3 separate regions of the Homo sapiens genome follow, and regions 1 and 3 are each linked to region 2. The links are contacts of gene promoters, found by promoter capture Hi-C in blood cells and fetal thymus (Javierre and others, 2016). All regions are on one chromosome and are shown on one strand. Each heading gives the region's core, a stretch centred on a gene start or on the middle of the fragment in contact. The rest is flanking DNA. Distances are from core to core; before and after follow the strand shown. Region 1 overlaps LOC124901733 (a long non-coding RNA gene). Region 2 holds the start of FAM3C (FAM3 metabolism regulating signaling molecule C). Region 3 overlaps PTPRZ1 (protein tyrosine phosphatase receptor type Z1).

Region 1 (3,257 bases), core at 509-3,008, 540 kb after region 2:
GTATGATTACTCATTGTGTGTGTCAGGAGAGTAAGGAGGAAAAAGAACTGATTCCTTGATATCACTACTGGGCAGATGAATCGCTATTCCTGGACTCATTGTTATGTGAAACATATTTGTTTTTGTGGCTCTTTGAGTGCATTTGCTAGTTTGCATAGGGAGGCCAGATTCAACTAATACAAATGTAGGGTTTGCAATTCAATTTGAATTTCAGGTAGACATTGAATAATTTTTTAGTATATGTATGTCCAGTGCAATATTTGTCCCATGCAACATTTGGGACATGCCTATACCAAAAAATAAAAAATTGTTGTTTATCTGAAATTTAAATCTAATGAGGTGTCTTGTATTTTATCTGGCAATCCTAAGCTTACAGTAGAAAGCAGTCTACTTAATTCAGTAATGAAAGGATTTTCTCAGGTCTTATTAGGTCTGTATACTCTTTTAGAAGTGAGGTGAAAGTAGATTTACCAGTCATAGTTTAAGTACACATATTTGAATTTCAGCTTCATATTCTCGAAAACTAACTTTAAAAAGTTCGAAAATTTTCCTCTTAAGTCTTGTCCAACCAGATTTGAAATTTTATTGTAATGCAGATAAACAGTGGAAAGAATCAGACAGATCTTAGAATCTCAGCTTCTTTATTTACTACCTGTGTGGGTCTGGCAAAAATCAGCTATCTGAATTGATTTCAAGTATCTCAACATATAGTTATGAGGAATTAATAAGATAAATTGTGAGAAGCACCTATTATGTCAGACACATGTAATTTGTTCAAAACACATTAGGTGTCTATCCCATATTAATTGTAAAGTACTGGCTTAGGAGTACTTGTGAGGGTCTTGTACTAAGAAGGAATAGCAACTCATACATCCAAACTCCTGTGTTATCCTTTTTCTCTCCACAACTTTAGCAGAATGAATAGAATAAGATATGAACAAACAAGCTGCCATACGGAGTGAGGAACTTGTATTCTCTTACATATAGCTGAGTTTTACTCCTGACACTGGGACTGACATGTATGTGATTCCTTGTAAATGCTTATTTTATTACTTTTTGATGTCATTATTATTGTTATTATTATTATATAATAAGAAAGGATAGTTTTGCCTTTTCTTGGAGGGTAAGAACTTGTCTTAGTATCTTCAGCATGAGGCACAGTAGATACCACCACTGAAATGATACTTATTGGAGAACACCTGGCCACAGAATTGGGTTCCTGACTAATGGGTAGTAAATAGACCATACAATTTTCCTAATATGTTATTACATATTCAAATTTTTATGTGCATATTATGATATTTCTATCCTCCTTTTGTTCACACACACAAAAAAACAGATCTCACAGAGAAAAATATAGAACCCTCAGAATGACAGCTGCGATGTGAAGTCTTACTGTGCTTCCACAATTCTGGGAAAGAGAAGAATTGGAGAGGGAGGGAAGAACAGCTGCCTTCAAGTAGTTGAAGGGCTGTCATATGGGAGGAAGGCTTGCTCATGCCATGGACTCCAAGGGCGGAACTAAGGTTGAAGGGTAGAAGTTAAAAGGTGGTATGGTCAAGTTTAAGCAATAAAAACTGCCCATTACTGCAATGTCTCAAATGTGGTGAGGTCTCCTCTACTGAAATGTTGATTCACTGTCTCTGATGACCATTTATCAGGAATATTAGAGCAGTAACTACAGCTCTGTTTTCTTCTTAACTTGTAAAATGGGGATAATAATCCCAATTTATCGACTCACAGGAGAGGGATTTGATCCAACGAAATCTAAAGAGACCCTTTTGCTAGTTTTTAGGCAGCTGTAAAGCCCTCGTTGCAGGGTTTTCAAATTTTGCTGCAAACTAGAATTACCTTGGGAGCTTGGAAAACCCTGTGTGTCTAGGCCTCACCTGCAGAGACTCCGATTTAAGTGGTATCAGGCATGCCAGAGAATTAGGGTTGTTTCAAAGCTCTCCAAGTGATTCTCGTGTACAACAATTTCGAGAACCATTAAACTAGAGTACTAAGAGCCATTATTCTGGATTTTACTTTGGAATCTAGGTTGGACTACAGATGTGACGTTGAGCAACTACTTTATCTTGGATCTGTATTTCTTGTTTACCAGGAAGAAGAGGACATGCATACTTCTAAAGTAACTTCCTCTAGTATTTTATTACTTTAAGGCAGTTGACCCTTAAAGGTATACGAATTAAGGAAAGGGCACTTAACTACCTTCTAGGAGTAGAAGAGGATCTCTGCTTTGACACATGGGAATTGTTGGCACTCTTTTTCTCAGTTTTAATAGCAGTCATGGACTCCTTTCAATGCGGGGATGTTTATACCTCTCCGGGGAATGTATGGCACCAACAGCATTTGGATGGCTGGTTGTTTCAGCAGTCCTTTGCTTAAAATAGGCATGCACCCTAATTTGAGAAGAAACTGGCAGAGGATAAAAGTGGGTTTCTTTGCTCTTCCCCAGTATTCTAGAAGCTGCTTCATTATCAGAGTTGGAGTCATCTGATGGATAACTGGACATGTTTCTTGGTGTTTTTTTTGTGTATGGCTATACTTCTTTATACTCTTTTGGGTTGCTGTCTTACATACTGCTTAGTGACTTGCTTACCAATAATTTTCCTAGCCTAACCCAGGACAACCATGTTGTCTTTTGGTCTTGACTTTTCCATATGAGACTGCATGTCTTATTGTCACTCCAGTCATGCAGCAACTAACTCTAGACAGGCAGTCATGGACATAGGATTCCATTTTTTTTTTTTTTTTTTTTTCTGCAAGGAAATCCAAGGACTCCAGTTATTAGGTCAAAGATGTTGCTCGTATTCCAGGTAATTCATATTTGCTGGTGAAGTTTTATTTGCCATGCAGTGCCCACAAAAGTAATCCTAGAAATGAGCAGTACTGTGAGGCATAGCACAACACATCCACATTTTATGTGGAGGATATGATCCAGTGGCATTTTATTTAGTGTGAAACTTCTGTCTTCTAAAAGGGAAGATTCTTTTGGAAGGATGGTCTCCTGCTGTGTAATACTTCATGAATTTCTAGTTTAAAAAAATTAGATTTTCCAAAGATCCACTACTATGTACACATTTCAAAATAAATCACCCAGTTAACTCAAAACAATCTTATCGTGAGAAATTTTGGAAAGCTTGAGTTACTTCTAAGAGTTAAAAATGTTCTTTCCTCCTCTTCTGCATGTCAGACTGCACATGATTACTCTGATGTTTCCGTAAATGCTATTAGTGCACTATGAAAGTGGGAAA
Region 2 (2,943 bases), core at 299-2,798:
CACAGACACTCACCCACACATGATGCTGTACAAATGTTTCATGAAGAATACTTATCCTGAATTTATGCTTTGAACTGTTTTTTTTTTCTATTTTTCAGTGAATCAACAGCAACAAAATGTTGGTTGTGACCCATTGTTATTAATTTCATTACCTACCAAAGGGTTCTAAGCTATATCTTATGGTCAGTGGAGAATAGGCTACTAACACATTAAACTTTATGCACAGGAATTGTTTCAGGTGTGGTGCTATAAGAATATGTCACATGTAATTTCCAATCTGGTTGGCTCGGTTACAGAGCAGATTGCTCTTTCAGAAATACACCGTGACCTCCCTACTCAAGAGGCTTCATAAACTCTTTCAGTGAGACATAGCAGTCTAGGAGAGGCATGTGTACAGTAAGTGTTATGATTTTTTGGTACTATAATAAGCAAAGTGCCTTTTTGTTTATTTGGAGCTACATGAAGCTAGGCCGGAATTCCAGCTTCATAACTTACTATCTTGTATTTTTGAGCAAGATATTTAAACTCAGTTTTGGAGTCTTAGTTTTTTGATTTAAGTAATACACAAATAGCATAATATTGGCACATGGAAGACAATGAGAATTCATTTCATGCTTTCTCCCCTGATCACGGATCACAAACTCCAGAATTCATAGTTACTATTAGTTTGTGTGTTTTATATTTTTGGAGGAAAGCTAAAATTTGGTAGATTATTAATTCTATATTAACACACTATAGTCAAACCCTATTTTTAAATGCAATTTAATTTCTGCAACCACTGATGATCCCAATATTCTGTCAAATACTAGGTAACAGTTATTCATTATTTTAGAATATGGATCTGAATTATGAAATAATTTTGCATTCTAAGGTCTTATGTAGTAAGATTTGGATTAACTTCCCAATTATCAACACAATTGTAGGAAATCTCCTGAGAAAAAATATTTCTAACGATTGTGTATCTTATAATTTAAAAAATAAACGTGACTTGGAAAATGCAAGGACTACTGTTCTTCTTGGGTGGTGCATTAAAGGTGATCAGAATTCTAATGACGCTGGACAGTAGGATTTTCAGAATCAGTTTCCTAGGGTTCAAGAAGTCAAACGGCAAATAACCCAAGGTCCTTGGTTGATCTGACCATCTCAGCTATCTCAAGATATATAAGATGACCTAACTGGCGCATCTCTAGGATGGGTGGGTCATTTAAAATGTTCTGCCCTTGAGGCTGGGATTTTGTGCGTGTAAACGGTGGGGAGACGGCGGTGACACATTTTTCTCCCTCCCGTAGTGCCACCCGGCGCAGGGCCGCTGCGGCGGCGGCAGCTCCCACGTGGCAAGTTCAGATTGTGCAGCGCCTGGCCGGGGGCGGTGGGCGGGACCGCAGACCCCTCCCTCCGCTCTCCGGCCCTTCCCTCTGGCCGGCCCGGGCGCCCGCTTGGTCCTCCACCGCCAGGGGGCGGGCGCGGCTTCCCGGCGGCGGGGGCCCATTGGTCGCGGCCGGGAAGCGTGGGAGGAGGCCCAGCGGCGAGCTGGCTTTCTCCTGGCCACTTGCCGGGGTGAGGGGCAGCCGGAGGAGTCCGAGAGGAAGCGGAGGCGCGAGCTGGAGGCGGCGGCTCCCGTCGGCCTCCGGCAGGACTGAGCGCTGGGAGGCCGGAAGGCGGGCGCGCGCGGCGGAGAGGCGGGCGGGAGGCCGGTGAGACGGCTGGGAGGCGGACGGAGCCGGGGCTCAGGTTCGGGGAGGGATGGAGGAGGCCGGGGAAGCCAGACGCCCACCTACGACTTCAGCCTCCGCGCACTGCGGTCACCGGCCGGGGGCGGGCCCCGGGCCCGGCCGCGTTGTCACGGCGTGTCCGGACGTTGGAGAGGGCGCAGGCGGGACTGGGGTCCCGGAGAGCCGCTGGCCGGGGTTCCCGGCCGCCGCCCCGGCGTGGGCATCCCCGGGCTCCGCGGAGACGGGGCGGCGTCTGCACCTGGCGCTGGCACTCGGCGCCCCGGCCTGGGGCGGGCACCTGGGTCGCATCTTCCCCAGGTTGGCTGTGGCTCGCGCCCCTGCAGCGTGTAGGCTGAGAGCTCCGAGAGGTGGGGACGGAGTTGGGTGTTGCATTCCAACTCCATAGGGGGCCGTTTTGACTCACTTGTAAAGTTTTAGTGTCGCCTATACTAGAGGTACTTTTGGTTTTTTACAAGCTATCCAGCCCTTTGATGTTTGGTGTCTCTTCTTTTTCTTCCTATTTGTTTGCTACTGCTCTCACAGCTCGGGACCACGGATGATGATTAGTGGCCCTAGATCTGAATATGTGAGTGACGGATTGGCAATTTGAGATTGAGAGCTCCAGCTGTTTTACTTGTGGGAGGAGCGGTTTCCATCATCCTCTACCTTTTTTTTTTTTAAGAAAAAATATTATTGCCTGTAATATAGAACTGCTATCTAATTGATAGGACTTTTCCTTTGTTTCTTTTTGGCCAACATGGTGAAACCTCGTCTCTACTAAAAAATAAAAAAATTAGCCAGGTGTATGTATCCATATATATATATGTATGTATGTATCCATATATATGTATGTATCCATATATATGTATGTATCCATATATATGTATGTATCCATATATATGTATGTATGTATCCATATATATGTATGTATCCGTATATATGTATGTATCCATGTATCCATATATATGTATGTATCCATATATATATGGATACAATGACATAAATAATATTAGATTGCTTACTGTGTACTAGGCACTGCCAAATGGTTTCGTGTGCTCATTTATTCTCACAACAGCTCAGTGAATAAGTCCCTTTATCTTTTCTAGTTTTACAGATGGAAATATGAACTCCCGAGAGTAAAGGTCAATGCTGATAGCAGAGGCCCCGACCCCTTGGACTTGTGGCCAATTTGCAGTTACGTTTTCTTAAGTCTTGGGAACCGTTACTATTA
Region 3 (3,005 bases), core at 248-2,747, 600 kb before region 2:
TAGCAATTTTCATTTAATGATTATTACAATGTTATAAATATGTTTAGTCACTCTTATTTTACAAATGGTAAACTCCAATATTAAGGATAAGTTTACTTATTGTCTGGCACCAGACCTGCTGAATGAGAAATGGGTCCCATGCCCCAAAAAATTACCCGGCAATCCAGACTTAAGAGAAAATCACTTTGCCTTTTGGCCAAAAGAATATAGAGAGAAAGCATCAATGCATACAGTAATTAAACTAACCTCATTTATTGAGTTAATATATAGATGTATCTGGTGGCACTTACCAGGATTATCAGTAGGCATGTCGACAATCAGTTGGTCGCTGTATTTTCCATATAAGCCATTAGTGCATATGGCTACTATCTGAAGAACATAACTCATATTGGGTAGCAAATTATTGAGAATAGCACCCTAAAAGAAAGATGTTAGTAATTATACAAATGTTATTCTCATAGGACTACCAACACACTAGGTATCTTTCCTAGAAAACTTTTTCTCCCTGGTCCGTGGAAAATACTTCTATTTTATTAACCTAAGGAAAAGTTTATGCAATGTTGCTTAGTTAAACTTGTGGTATTTGTGAATTATGAAGAACTGGAAAGCTAGGCTTTTTTTTTTTTTTTGCTTTTTAAAAATCAGATTTAGTTTCAGGAAGTTTCATTTTTAGCCAGAACTCATCAAATTCATAAATTAGTACTACAAACTAAAAATTAATATTTTAGACAAATAAATGGGGGGCATTTGCAAACAAGGAGCAATGTGAAAAAGTGAACAACTAAGTTATCTCTTTTTCTTGACAATATATATGCAAGAACAGTAATAGAATTATCTTCTTCACGTAATTATGAAATAAACATTTTTATTACTATTTATTTCACGATTTTCCCAGGTCATTGTGTCTCCATATTCCAGGCAACTGAATTAAAAGGTTACTAAAATTTTATCCATTTTGTCCACATGATATGAAACATAATTAATAGTGCATTTTTATTTAAATGCAGGTTCCCAGGACTTGCAGGACTCTAGGTGCCTGAGTGCAGAGTCCAGTGTCCTTTAACCTGCAGTGGGGACTTTCTGGACCTACATCCAGATGAAGGTTTGTCAACTACACCCTAATCTATGGCCAACACTTCCCTACCAGAGCAAAGTTTAATACTGACATGCTCAGGCCACAAAGGGAATCTGTACTTTATTCGCATGCGCTGGTGGAGGGAGGCAGGGGTGGATCTTTTTGTAAGAAATGTTTTCTTACATCCCCAAAGTTCTGACCCAATCATGACTTCCCAGCTGTTATCTGAAAATTTTTTGGTGCAACAAAGAGGACTTGTATGTCCCCTACTCTACTTTTCCTGTGCTGATATAGCGTAATGGAAGACACAATATAAAATGTATCAGGGCACTGAGATTCTGGCACTATTCTACAACTGAAATCTTAAGAAAGGCCACACTAAATGATCTCCAGTTCATAAGTCATATGTATCTACTCTATAGTGTTATTGTTGGCAAAGTTATGATATCCATTTAATTAAATGTAACTTTAAACATAATTTAGTATAGCTTCTAATTTAAAATTTTTTTTTAAATTTAAAAATACTCAGCCTACCCCACCTTCACATAAAGTCTAAAAGTAATGGAGGAAAATAATATACAACCATTTGTAAGTTCTTACCTTGGAAATTAAATTATAATGTTACCCTATGTAAAACAACTGATCATATAGTTACCAAGTCTTGATAGCCATCTGTCAAAAATTCATGCTTGGTTTGGTCCTCTCCATCCAACTGCTGGTACAAAACTGCAAACTTCTCAATCATGGTATCATAAACGACTCGAGGTCTTTCCCATGTAACAAGAAGGCTGGTATAATTCTCTGGGTCAGCCTGAACATTTTCTGGTTCTGAACTACAAACTTCAGAGAGAAAAAAGTACAGTTGTTGATAGAACTTAGCCTTGAGGACTTGAATAAATAAAACATATTCTATAAAAATTTTATTGTGTTTTATTTCAATGTAAAGTAAAAAGTTACACTTTCCCACTGTGGAGCTTTTGCTTATTCCATTTCCTATATCTAAAATACTCTTTCCACCCCTCTTAACTCTATCTGTTCAAATCCCAGCTTTCCATTCTGGAAAGGTCTTGGTCAAATGCTACCTCCTTCATTACTCACATTAATCTCTACTGAAGTGATCTCTGTCATTGTCAATTGCCTATTTTATCATTATTACTGCATTATTTGCATACTTTCGTATTGTATTTTTCCTGAATGAATCTTGACTCCTCTAGTGGATTATAAACATAAGAACCATAGCTCTGTAGTTCTATATTGCCTAGAACATTGTTTTGAATATACCTGGCATACAGATTCATTTTTAGAAATAAATGAACAAAGAATATCTGCAAGCTCATGATGACTTAATTTCTCTTGTTTGGTACCTGAAAATATATTCAGTTCAGGATGAGGATAATTTCAATTATGAAAGACATACTATTATCGGAACATTTTGTTATTAGACAATCCTTGAACTAATTTAAAATTCCCAACCAGAGAAAACCAAAGAAAACCTAAAATTGCCATTTCAGTATTTTTCAGACGTGCTGACAAAAATCCCATTTTGTTATCATAAGTAAATTAAGAAAATAATTTTAGGGAATTAAGAGACTTGTTTGTCTCATCTGAAAAAGTAGTATTATGAAAAATCATTCAGAGACTTCTTAAAATGAATTCAGGCCCATGCTGGGAATCATGCCCCAAATTTAGTCCCATCAGAGAGTGCCCTGGTACTTTCCAAAATGCACTTATAATGTGATAGTTTGGACTAATTTGGAAAAGAAAAACTATAACATTTTATGATATTTTACTAACGAAGCAGAGTAATAAATATCTCTTCATGGGCCAGATTTGCAAAGCAGAGGGAGAGAAAGATCTCTCAGGCTGAATATTAATTAATATACTTACTTGTTTTCAGGTGACACCTGAAGTTACAAAGCCACTCAATGAG

What was found. Contacts are between HindIII fragments. The CHiCAGO score rates a contact against its expected background, and 5 or more counts as called.
Region 1: a fragment that was not itself captured here is called in contact with the fragment with the promoter of FAM3C in region 2 in 2 of 17 cell types (naive B cells and activated CD4 T cells); the score reaches 5.8 in naive B cells.
Region 3: a fragment that was not itself captured here is called in contact with the fragment with the promoter of FAM3C in region 2 in 1 of 17 cell types (total B cells); the score reaches 5.4 in total B cells.

Annotation. Positions count from the first base shown.
Region 1 is chr7:120,858,543-120,861,799 of GRCh38, reverse strand. All of the region lies in intron 1 of LOC124901733 (a long non-coding RNA gene), which reads right to left. Among named protein-coding and RNA genes, the nearest start is that of TSPAN12, 2.0 kb to the right of the region's middle. The HindIII fragment of the contact is 2,773 bases long and covers 372-3,144 here.
Region 2 is chr7:121,394,913-121,397,855 of GRCh38, reverse strand. It overlaps FAM3C (FAM3 metabolism regulating signaling molecule C), which reads left to right and starts at 1,548. Exons shown (of 10, transcript NM_014888.3): 1 at 1,548-1,694. RefSeq lists silencers at 1,184-1,243, 1,284-2,113 and enhancers at 1,341-1,925, 1,926-2,511. The HindIII fragment of the contact is 3,372 bases long and covers 1-2,943 here.
Region 3 is chr7:121,995,292-121,998,296 of GRCh38, reverse strand. It overlaps PTPRZ1 (protein tyrosine phosphatase receptor type Z1), which reads right to left. Exons shown (of 30, transcript NM_002851.3): 9 at 1,731-1,915; 10 at 291-417. Among named protein-coding and RNA genes, the nearest start is that of PTPRZ1, 120 kb to the right of the region's middle. The HindIII fragment of the contact is 5,791 bases long and covers 1-3,005 here.